2 separate regions of the Homo sapiens genome follow, and region 1 is linked to region 2. Evidence: promoter capture Hi-C in 16 types of primary human blood cells and fetal thymus (Javierre and others, 2016). All regions are on one chromosome and are shown on one strand. Each heading gives the region's core, a stretch centred on a gene start or on the middle of the fragment in contact. The rest is flanking DNA. Distances are from core to core; before and after follow the strand shown. Region 1 holds the start of BTBD10 (BTB domain containing 10). Region 2 holds the start of RPL27A (ribosomal protein L27a).

Region 1 (5,976 bases), core at 3,477-5,976, 4.8 Mb before region 2:
TTTATGGACCATAAGGCAGGAGCGTAGGGTTGTAAAATGAGTTTCCACATGGCATTCCAGAGATATATAGGAATTTTAGTTACTTATAAAAGTTGAAAGAGACCTGGAACCACATGCCGACTTTAGCTACCAGGGAAGTTTAATTACTTCTGATTTTCCCTAGATAAGGAGTTTTGCCTCCGGATGGCCTGCTTGATAGTCACCAGGTGGTCTTTGCTCCCTTCTAAATTCCTCAGATAAGGAGTTTTTGTCTCCGGGGCCTGTTCAATGATCACCACGTGATTTTGCTCTCCTCAATGGGTACATGCCTATGTTTGTATATTGTCTACATGGTGCCAAATTGATTTATGAATAAATGAGCACTTATTAAGCAAATAAGCCCAAATGCTTTTGAAGTTCACGTGACTTTAGTAATCACTGGTAATTAAAACTAGTTTTTAAAATGTTGGTAAAATAAAATTAGAATTTCTTCAGAATTGTATTAAATATAATTCAGACATTTTCACCTAGGTCTCTTGGTGAGACATATTTATACTGTTTCCACTAGATGTCTTAAGGTAACAGAGTTTGGTGACCAAACACTGTGGTTAGCACCTATAATCTCAGCACTTTGGGAGGTCAAGGCAGGAGGATGGCTTGAGCCAGGAAGTTTGATAACAGCCTGGGCAACATAGTGAAACTTTGTCTCTATAAAAAAAAAAAAAAAAAAAGACACATACAAAAAAACTGTTGCTTCTGTGAATTTTTTTTCTTTTCTTTCTTTCTTTTTTTTTTTGAGACAGGGTCCTACTCTGTTGCCTGGGCTGGAGTGCAGTGGCACAATCATAGCTCACTACAGCCTTGAACTCCTGTGCTCAAGCAATCCTCCTGCCTCAGCCACCCAAGTAGCTAGAACTACAGGTGTGTGTCACCATGCCTGGCTAATTTTTAAATTTTTTGTAGAGACAGGGTATCCCTATTTTGCCTAGGCTGGCCTCAAAACCTGGACTCAAGTGATGCTTCCACTTTTGCCTCCCAAAATGCTGGGATTATAAGCATAAGTCATATAAGCATAAGCTTATAATGGCCATGCTATGCCTGGCCATTTCTGTGATATTTTTGATGTTTGATTTGTCTTGGAGCCAAAGCTCTGAGGGCTGGCTGTTGGGCTTCCCTGAAGCCTTGAACACATCTTACTGTGAGCTTATATCTTTGGTTTGAGCCTTTAGATTCTGGGATCTAGACAAGTGGCCCTGGTGAAGCCTGAAGACATACATATGTCCACAGTGTCTAGGCTGTCAGGTGTAGGGCAAACCCAACGTATCCTCCCTGGCCAAGCTATGCCTCCTGGTTATGTTGGGTAGGGTCGGACCCTCCAGGCATCCTCTTCATAGCTCTGCCCTCTCTCCTAAGCTCTAGACCTGGTATGTAAATTCAGGACCCAGATGAGCTCCACCCTTTACAGCCATCCTCGTTGCCATGTGGGTACTTGGGACCCAGGATGACTGGGGAAGACATTAGAGAGAATTCCTGTGTTATTTTAAAGTTATGCTGTATTAAATTAATAGATAAGCATAAGATGTCAGAGTCACTTCTAAGTTAAAATACTGAAATATTATTTCTAAGTTAAAATACTGAACTATTAATCTCTAAACATAAGTTTAAGTTTGTATATTTTAGCATCTTGTTTTTATGTGGTATAGAAAAACTAATTATATTTATATGTTAATTAAAAAATTTATCTACAACTACTGATATAAAACAGTTTGAAATTACTTTCTAGGTTTTTCACTAGAAATTAAGGTTACTAAGAGTTAAAATTGTAATTAACAAATGTAATTAAAATTACTAGATATAAGAGAAACAATTGTGTATACAGAGTGTATAAGAAAAATAGGATGAATTTTTGGTAGAAAGGATTATGAAGGAGGCATGAGAATATGTTTTTTTGTTAAAAAGAAAGTAATTTTGTCCAGAGGTTTTTAAAGGTTGTTTTAAGTTGAAGAGATTTAAAAAACGATAAAACTGAATGGATATAGAAAATTGAGGAAAGAAAGAAAATTGAAAAAAATTATGAGTTTATAAAATGTTTATAGAAATGTTGTGTGGTGAAAGCTGATTGAGATGAGATGAATTAGCATTTCCATTGTGTATACTACCCTCAGTCTTCCAGACTGGTGGGATGCACAAATGGAAAATACAAAATCAATTGGCAAAGCTTACAGAAACGTCTTACCTTCCTTGGCCTAAGACTCTTTCATTTGCTTAGCTTAAATTCTACCCTGCTTGGAATACATCAGCTCTCTCCCATTGAAGTGATAATGAGAAGGCCCATGCCCCTGAAAAAAGGAGCTTACAAGCTAGCTCTCCTTAAAGGTGGTGTTCTTAAAAAAAAAAAAAAAGAAAAAGAAAAAATAAAAATAAGTAATCTTATGTCTGGGTGCGGTGGCTCACGCCTGTAATCCCGGCACTTTGGGAGGCCAAGGCAGGTGGATCACCTGAGGTCAGGAGTTCGAGACCAGCCTGGCCAGCACAGTGAAACCCCCATCTCTACTAAAAATACAAAAATTTAGGCGGGCGTGGTGGCACATGCCTGTAATCCCAGCTACTCGGGATGCTGAGGCAGGAGAATTGCTTGAACCAGGGAGGCAGAGGTTGCAGTGAGCCAAGATTGCACTACTGCACTCCAGCCCGGGCAACAGAGCGAGACTCCATCTCAAAAAAGAAAAAAAAAAAAGAGTAATCTTCATCTCTGTCCTCCCATAACACACTATTTCTATCTTTGACCTAACTTGTTTTCCTTTTGTTATTTAATTATACATCTCATTTTGTCAGAATATGTATAATACTATCTGTATCTCTTAGTATTTTTATTTTTTTCAGTTTTGTAGAGAAGTCTTGCTATGTTGCCCAGGCTAGTCTCGAACTCCTGTCAAGTGATCCTCCCGCCTCCCAAAGTGCTGAGATTATAGGCACGTGCCACAGTGCCCAGCTCTTCTGGTATTCTTACACAGGGGCTTGATTAATAAATGTATTTGCTGAATAGGGATCGAGTTATTTTTGCGTGTATGTGATTTTCCTGTTCCTGCCATTAGATGGCAGTGCTCAAACTTAGTAGTACAAAGAAATTCCAGGTTTTAAAAATTAAATAGGATTCTGGGTCTGTGGTCTTATCTGCTTTGAAACAATATTGCCTTAGCATGCTATAACACAAACTACCAAACGACCTTGTTTGTTCACTGCTACTATATGAAACTTCTCTTTCTGTATGGACCTCTTTGGTGTGTGGAAGAAAGACTTTCATTAAAGTTCTGAACCTTAGCCTATGCAGTCAGCTAGCATTTACAAATTATCGTGTAGAGCAGATTTGTGATTATCTAAATCTATGGCATTACCTACCAAATGTATAACTGTTACCAGTGCTACTGTGCTACTACCTTAATATTTGAAAGGTTAATTATCTCTTTTTTTTTTTTTGAAACGGAGTCTCGCTCTGTCGCCCAGGCTGGAGTGCAGTGGCACAAGCTCTGCTCACTGCAAGCTCCGCTTCCCGGATTCACACCATTCTCCTGCCTCAGCCTCCCAAGTAGCTGGGACCACAAGCGCCTGCCACCACCCCCGGGTAATTTTCTGTATTTTTAGTAGAGACGGGGTTTCACCATGTTAGCCAGGATGGTCTGGATCTCCTGACCCCGTGATCTGCCCGCCTCGACCTTTCAAAATGCTGGGATTACAGGCGCGAGCCTCCGAACCCGGCCGATTAATTTTCTTTTAAAGCAAAGAACAGTAGAAACTTTATTCGATTTTCTATTTTCTCCCAACTCCCATTCTCTTTTGTTTTTGAAGAACAGCAGAATGAAATGAGCTCCAGGACCCATCCAAGTAGGATATGATGGTTTGAACAGATTCCAGCATGGAACAAAGTTTCCATATTTTGCCTGAAGTCTTTCATTCATATGATTCTTCTAATGCTTCCTGGAAAATTCCAAGAACTTGATGTGAAATTATGCTTAACAGAACACCCAATTGGCCTATGGCAGGTGCATTAGTCCATTCTTGCACTGCTATAAAACAAAGAGGTTTAACTGGCTCACGGCTCCGCAGGCTGTACAGGAAGTCCGACGGCTTCTGCTGGGCTTCTGGGGAGGCCTCAGGAAGCTTACAATCATGGCAGAAAGCCAAGGTACAGCAGGCACGTCTTATATGGTGGGAGGAGTGGGGCGGGGGTGGGGGGGCGCCACACACTTTTAAAGAACAGATTTCACCAGAACTCACTATCACCAGAATGGCAAAAACAGGGAAATCTGCCCCCATGATCCAACGACCTCCAACACTGGGGATTACAATTCCACATGAGAGGTCAGGTGGGGACATAGATCCAAACCGTATCAGCAGGGTTAGAATAACTTTTTTGTTTTCCTCCTAAGTGTTGGGCTTATTCGTAGGGAGAGTATGGTAAGCCAAATAAAACTATAGTATACATAGTATTTTTCATATAGTATACATATTTTTATATGTAATATGAAAATAATGTGTCCAAAGGAAGGTGAGTGGAAACTACAGCAAAATACCAGAGTCTTTCTTTAGAAAAGGACAGCTTCTATTTTGATGTAAGAGTATGGCTCCTCATTAGCCCTAACTTGGACTACAGAATGACTTCTTCTGAGCAGAGCTTATAGGAGAAAATTTTGATAATAAATCAGGACTGATGACGTTTTTGTTTTTTGCCTGAGAATTTTCTCAGAGTTTCTCTGAGAAACTGTATCACAAAATTCCTATTAGATTGCTCTTATGTAGACAACTTGAAATTATTGGCAATTTCCAATTTAGCAAAATGTTGGCTATAATAACTTAGTGAATTACGACAATAACCCGTTTCTCTTAGGTTTCTGATATTTAAGTGTCCTTACAGGAGAAAGATGAAGTTATCTTATAATTGTCCAGCTCAACTGCTCATCTTCTTAGCATAAACACTGATTTGGAAAATACTTTGCGTATCACACGTAGGAGCCTGGGAATGTTCTCATCCGAACTAAACAGTGGTTAAAGGTTTTTCAACAAAGTTCTTGCTGCAATATCTGTTTTCATACCCAATTACTCAAACCAGGTCCTCTTCCTCTTTGCTTCCTCTCCTTGCAATGCCCTTCCCTCTCTTCCCTAAACTGGAGAACTTACTTATGCTTAAGATTCAGCGCAATTGTCACTCCCAGGTGAAGGCTTTCTCAACAAGGCCTCCCCGTCTGCTCCCAGAGCTCATGGCAAGCAGCTCGGCTTTTATCAGAGAATAATGGGATTATCTATTTTCCTGTAGGTCTTGCCCCGGGGGTGTAAGCTTCGAAGGCGGAGACTGTGTCTTTTACATTTTTTCCCGTTTTTATTGCCCAGCCAGCCCATGTAGGTGACTCTCGGTGTTTCCTAGGCGGCCAAACTGAAGGAGTTTCAGCTGGCACAGGGGTTCCCGCCAACCGAGCGTTTAAAAATAAGCAGCGGGGGACGTTAGGGAACAGAGGGTGTCCCTCACGACGACCGACTCTCATCAGGTCCACGCCGGCAGAAGCGATTTTGCAGTTTGCTTTGATGAGGAAAACGCTCTCCCTGAAGAGTCCCTGCACTATTTCTCCAACTCTGTGACCGAGACGCTGTCCACTTTTCTCTAACGGTGACAGGAAGTCAAGGGGAAAACGTGGGATTCAAAGGTTTGAAGGTAACAGCCCTCAGCCACTCGGGCTCGAGGCCCGCGGTTGACCCGAGCTGATGTCTGTGAGGAGAGGTCGCGCGGCGCCTTCCTCTCCACGCGCCTGAGATCCCACCCGTGGCCGCCGCGCCCTCAACTGCCTTCTCCTTCGGTGCCCCGCCCACCCCTGGGCGGAGAGCACCGTTCTCGCGAGAACGCTGCTGGCCTCGCCTCTTCGCATTGTGAGCTCTCGCGGTAAGAGGCTGAGGAGCCGGCCTGCAACCTGCCGGGGCGGCTCCGCTACGCGCAGCCGCCTCAGTGGC
Region 2 (5,351 bases), core at 1-2,500:
CATTACCGCGGCCGCCGGGGTGCTTCCGGTGCTTGCCTGCAGGAATACAAAGCTACGTGGGGCCGGTGTGATGGCTCATGCCTGTAATCCCAGCATTTTAGGAGGACGAGGGGGGGTAGATCACCTGAGGTCAGGAGTTCGAGACCAGCCTGGCCAACACGGAGAAACCCCCGACTCTACTAAAAATAGAAAAAGAATTAGCCGGGCGTCGTGGCGCACACCTGTAATATCAGCTACTCGGGAGGCTGAGGCAGGAGAATCGCTTGAGCCCGGCAGGCAGGGGTTGCAGTGAGCCGAGATTTCGCCACTGCACTCCAGCCTGGGCGACAGTGATCAGTCTCACACACACACAAAAAAGCTACATGCACCACACAGCCTTCTCATGCATCTCAATACTTCCTCGCACAAAAGCAGAGTGTTTCCCAGACTTCTGTGTCCCGCTTACGCTGTTCCCACCCTACCGATGCCGGTTTTCAGCAATGCGATTACTTTAGGATTCCGGGTGAAACATCTTTTCAGGTTCCACATCACAGCATTCCCACAGTACTCCATGTCTTCAACTAACCCAATACCGTGCCTGCTCAATTCCTATTACCCCACTGATGTGAAATTCCTTAGAACTGGAATACTAGAGGATCGTCAGAAAAAAATCAACAGCTGTGCAACTTGACCACAAAAAGGTCTTATTCTAACCCACTTATAGGCTACCGATCTCCAGACTAGCTAAGCACCCGAAGAGAGCCCAAGGCCCACCCCGAGGGGAAGCCGGCACTTACCTATGCGGCCGTGGCCGTGGCTCACGTGGCCCCTAAGTTTCCGGGTCTTCCTCAGTCTGGATGGCTGTGTGGAAAAAGCTTGGTGGTAAGGCCTAAGGAATTAGGGGCAGGGGGCGATGCCCGCCAGCCGAGATGGTCCTGTAAGCCTGTGGGTCAAAGACCTAACTTCTGGAGCGTTTGGGAAAGCTGAGGGTACCGATCCGCTCAGGGCCGTGAGGTCTCACCACGGTAGCGCAGGGGCCCGCGTGTCCTAGAGATCCGAACCGCGGGCCTAACACACGGCTCCGGGAGCCCCGCCCCGGGCCCGCGCCGGCCACCCTGCCCCGCAGGCGGCCATGCGCAGCCTGGAAGCCCCGACCATGGTAGGGAGTGGATGACTAGGGGCAATGGGAATACAGCTTAGGGGTCTCCGCCGGCAAGGAAGAGGAGGCAAGAAACGAAACACCTACCATGTTGGCAGCCCAGACGAAAAAGGAAGGCCTTCGCCAAGTCTCGCGAGGTATCGGCCACGGGGGCGGGGCAAAACGCCTCACTTCCGGTCACAGAGGCCGGGCTTCGGGCGGGGCCTCCTGGTCTCGCGGGATTGCGCGCCTGCTAGTCGCTTCCTCTTTCTGAGGGTGGTGATCCCCCATCACGGAGTGTCCTGGTGGCGGTGTACGGTTTCGGTGAGGCTCGTTGTGCTAGGCTCGGAGGGCGAGAACTGTTGAAGAATCGGGGCTAGGTGTGCTGTACTGCACGCCGCCCGTGCTTGCTTGAGCCAGGCCCTTTTCTGGCGCCTTGGTCAGGGAACCGCCTAAGCCGACCCTAAGGGCCTCGTTGTCTGAGCTCCTCACCAAATGCGCCAGCCCTGAGCCGCCCCGCGCACCTCCACAGTTCTTAGTGGTCTGCCCGGGGCTGGTGATAGTGGCTACTGGTTTGTCTCCCGGCCGCAGTGCGGAACCGCGAGGCCCTCTTTAATCCTCAGTGTGCCCACCTGGTGTCTCGCTCGGTTTCCTGAAGCTCGGGCGGCTCCCGAAATGCCTTCTCCCGCTCTCACACTTCTGAGTGGGCACTGCAGCTTCCTTTCTCTTTTGCCCTTTTGCTATCATTTGGTTGTCCTCTCAAGTTTGAGCAACTTAAATTGCTTCAGGGACTTAGATGCCTGGTTGCTTTATGGTCCTTTTAATGCAGATGTTGTAAATACTTTTTCTAAATGCCACATTTAGGCCAGGCGCGGTGGCTCACACCTGTAGTCCCAACACTTTGGGAGGTCGAGGCGGGAGGATTTCTTGAGGCGAGTAGTTCAACACCAGCCTGGGCAACATAGTGAGACCCTCGTCTCCACATACAAAAGTAAATAAGTAAAAATAAATGCTATTTTTGAATTTTCTCCAGAATCTACATAACACGCCTGTGACCCTTTCCTGGACACAATGCAGACAGTTGCTCGCTTCCCCACCTGTACCACCACACAATCTAGTATAACCCTTATGTAATTTATTGACCTACGTTTGTCTTCCCTACTAGACCTAATTCCTTATGTGGTCAAGGACTGTTTTTTTTAATCCACACTCAACTAGTGATTGTTGAGTGAATAAATGAACTTACCCTCACCTCCCTGTCTTCGCTAATAGCAGCATGTCTTCGCTCTTAAGTCGGTTCCTTCAACCAGTGTTCAAGATCCCATCCCCTCGCTAGTCTATTAATAGATCCCATGGGAAAAATGAAATAAATTTTTAAAATCCCATCCCCTCAGTTATTCTCTGTGTGTATGTGTGAGCGTGTATTTATTTATTTTTCTTTGTCTTGCCCCCTTCAGCTAAAATATATTTTAGCTAAAATATCCAAAATTCTGGCCGGGCGTGGTGGCTTACTTCTGTAATCCCAGCACTTTGGAAGGCCGAGGCGGGCGGATCACGAGGTCAGGAGATCGAGACCATCCTGGCTAACACGGTGAAACCCCGTCTCTACTAAAAATACAAAAAATTAGATGGGCGTGGTGGTGGGCGCCTGTAGTCCCAGCTACTCGGGAGGCTGAGGCAGGAGAATGGCGTGAACCCGGGAGGCGGAGCTTGTAGTGAACCGAGATCGCGCCACTGCACTGCAGCCTGGGCGACAGAACGAGACTCCGTCTCAAAAAAAAAAAAAAAAATTCCAAAATTCTCCCATGTCCTTGCCCTTACAGCCAAGCTCCCCAAAAGAGTAGTCTACAAATCCTGCCCATTTGCACCTTCCCATCCATTGTTCACTGCGGTCTAGCTCACAGCCTGTGACTTCAGTGAAATTGCTCTTACTAATGTCATTAATGAACGAATTGCCAAATTGGACTCTTCCTATTCTTCATATCACTTGTTCTTTCTGTTGTACTTTAATCTGTTGGCGTCTTTTTCTAGAAAAAGTCTTGCCTTCCTCCTACTCTTTGGTCACTTTTCAGTCTTCTTTTCAGGTTCTTCCATCCAGCGTTGTCCACCATTTGAATGTTGATGTTCCTCAGCCTTCTGTCCTTGTCCTTATCTTTTCACAGTACATGGTCTTCTTGGGTGGCTTCAATTCACATCCTTATTGCTGAGCTCCACACCCATATGGTCACTTAATTACTGGTTAGTATTCCTTGGACATTCTACAGACAAAGTAAACATATCCAAAGAACTCAATCTGCACTGCTCACTGGTGCCTTCTCCTTTATTCTCTGTCTTGGTGAGTGGCACCATTGTCCACCTAGATAATGAAAATTGTCCCCAAGCCTTCTCTTCTTCTACTACACTGTCACCCTATCCTTTTGTTTCTGTATCTCCCCAATGTGCTTCCTCTGTTTAAGCCTTAGTGCCCTGCCTTCATTCAGGCCCCCATCATATCTCTTAACTGGAGTTTACAACACCTTCCTTTGTTCACTCTGCCTGCATTCTAACCCTCCTCCAATTTCTGTATCCTTCACACCTCCACCACGTTAGTATTCCGAAAACATGACTTTCATTCTTTTACTTGATCAAAAAGTTCGGTAGCTCCTTATGACCAACAGAATATAGCCCACTTGCCTTTCCAGCCTTACCCCAGCCTCTCCCTTACACAAGCTTTCTACTGCAGCCGTGCCTGGTATATCCCATTTGCATTTTTGCCTTTGCTCATGCTGTTTCCCATCCCGGAGTGCCCATCCTCTTCCTGACCACATGTCCTGAATCTTCCTCAACCTTTAAGGCCAACTTTATATTCTGCTTCTTCCCAGAACACTTCAGTCCACAAGGATAACAACCAACATTTTCAGAGCACTTGGCAATTTACAAAATACATCTGCCTGAAGGTACAGCACTACCAGCCTCATTTTACGTGTGTGAAAACTGAAGCACAGAAGAATTGGGTGACTTGTCAGACGCTGCATAGGTGGTCAGGTACAGAGCCTGGGCCTAGCCTTTAGTCTTCTCTCTCCAGATCCCCTGCTTTTACCTCAGTGACCAGTCCCTCTCTGACCTTACAGCATTATGGTCTTCATCCCTCCATCAACCTTAATCACATACTGCATGTGACCAGCAGGAAGAGGGGTCTTGAGAATAGGAGGGGAGATCAAAGAAGACATCGTCGTCTATTTGACATCAAAACTGGCCAGTAAGTGCACAAGAAATGAGCTGGGTTACCTGGAACCTAACCTTGGGAAGATGATCTGTCAATGGAGGTAAGCTGGGCAGGGCCTTGGGAATGAAAGGGAACCATCAGTGGTATTAGAGCTGGGGCCTACAATAAGGACCACCACTGCAAGGGGTTGAGGTAGGGTTCTGGGTGCTAAGACACTCCTCTTGGATAGTTTGCCAGGTTCCTTGGTTATAGAGGAGCTACGTTCTGTCCCTCAGGTCACGCGGCTGAACAGAAGGCCTCCCAGAGTGGACCCAGCACTACCCGTTGGGTTCTGTGTTCACCTAACATTCTTCTCATCAATGGCTTGATCTGGTTGTAGAGGGAGTACCCTGGGTAGTTGTCTGGCTCAATCCAGTTTTCTATCCAGCTCCCTCTCCTTCAAAAGGCAACCACATGACTTAAACACACAGCTCATGTGGTGTTTGTTCAGTGTGTGTCACTTTTCCTAGGTTGACAGAGGTCTGAGAGAGCAGACAAAGCTGAGTTTTCTGTCTGCAAAGTGGAGTAGCAGCCAGATATTTGGCATTAGGGGACCTGTCCCTCCCAGCTAGGCACATGGGACATGACCTTTGGCCATGACTCCTGAGGGGTGTCCTTCTCTGTGACATCTCTTCTGAAGTACAGCATGGCTTTGTGACATCTCAGGCATCTGGGCTTCCTCAGAGTGTGAGGGCCTCAGAAAATACCTCAGAAATGAACGGAAGAGATGATACCAGACAGCAGCCTGGTGAGGCAGGCAAGTGTGCTGATTTTTTGCTGCCCCAGGCCTCTCTCCAGGTGGCCTTGGGAACACATCATCACCCTGAAGAAGGCCCTGGTGATCCCTCTTCCTTTCTCTCCTCACTGGGTTCCTGAATTCGACATCAGTCCTTCAGATAGCAGCAACATCCTGAATGAATCCAGCTCTGTTTTCTTGCTCTCCATCTTTAGATGTGGACATTTGGAAATATGTTCGTTTTCTTTTTTAAG

The links. The method cuts DNA at HindIII sites, captures the fragments that hold promoters and counts their contacts. A CHiCAGO score of 5 or more calls a contact.
Region 1: a fragment that was not itself captured here is called in contact with the fragment with the promoter of RPL27A in region 2 in 1 of 17 cell types (fetal thymus); the score reaches 5.8 in fetal thymus.

What each region holds. Positions count from the first base shown.
Region 1 is chr11:13,463,206-13,469,181 of GRCh38, reverse strand. It overlaps BTBD10 (BTB domain containing 10), which reads left to right and starts at 5,960. Exons shown (of 9, transcript NM_032320.7): 1 at 5,960-5,976. RefSeq lists an enhancer at 5,591-5,780. The HindIII fragment of the contact is 1,174 bases long and covers 4,140-5,313 here.
Region 2 is chr11:8,678,691-8,684,041 of GRCh38, reverse strand. It overlaps RPL27A (ribosomal protein L27a), which reads right to left and starts at 1,250. Exons shown (of 5, transcript NM_000990.5): 1 at 1,226-1,250; 2 at 777-840; 3 at 1-36. The coding sequence starts at 1,228. TRIM66 (tripartite motif containing 66) reads left to right here and starts at 1,377. Exons shown (of 25, transcript NM_001388022.1): 1 at 1,377-1,441; 2 at 3,979-4,141; 3 at 4,228-4,422. RefSeq lists enhancers at 329-971, 1,298-1,487, 1,688-1,757, 621-1,820 and a silencer at 978-1,177. The HindIII fragment of the contact is 2,972 bases long and covers 857-3,828 here.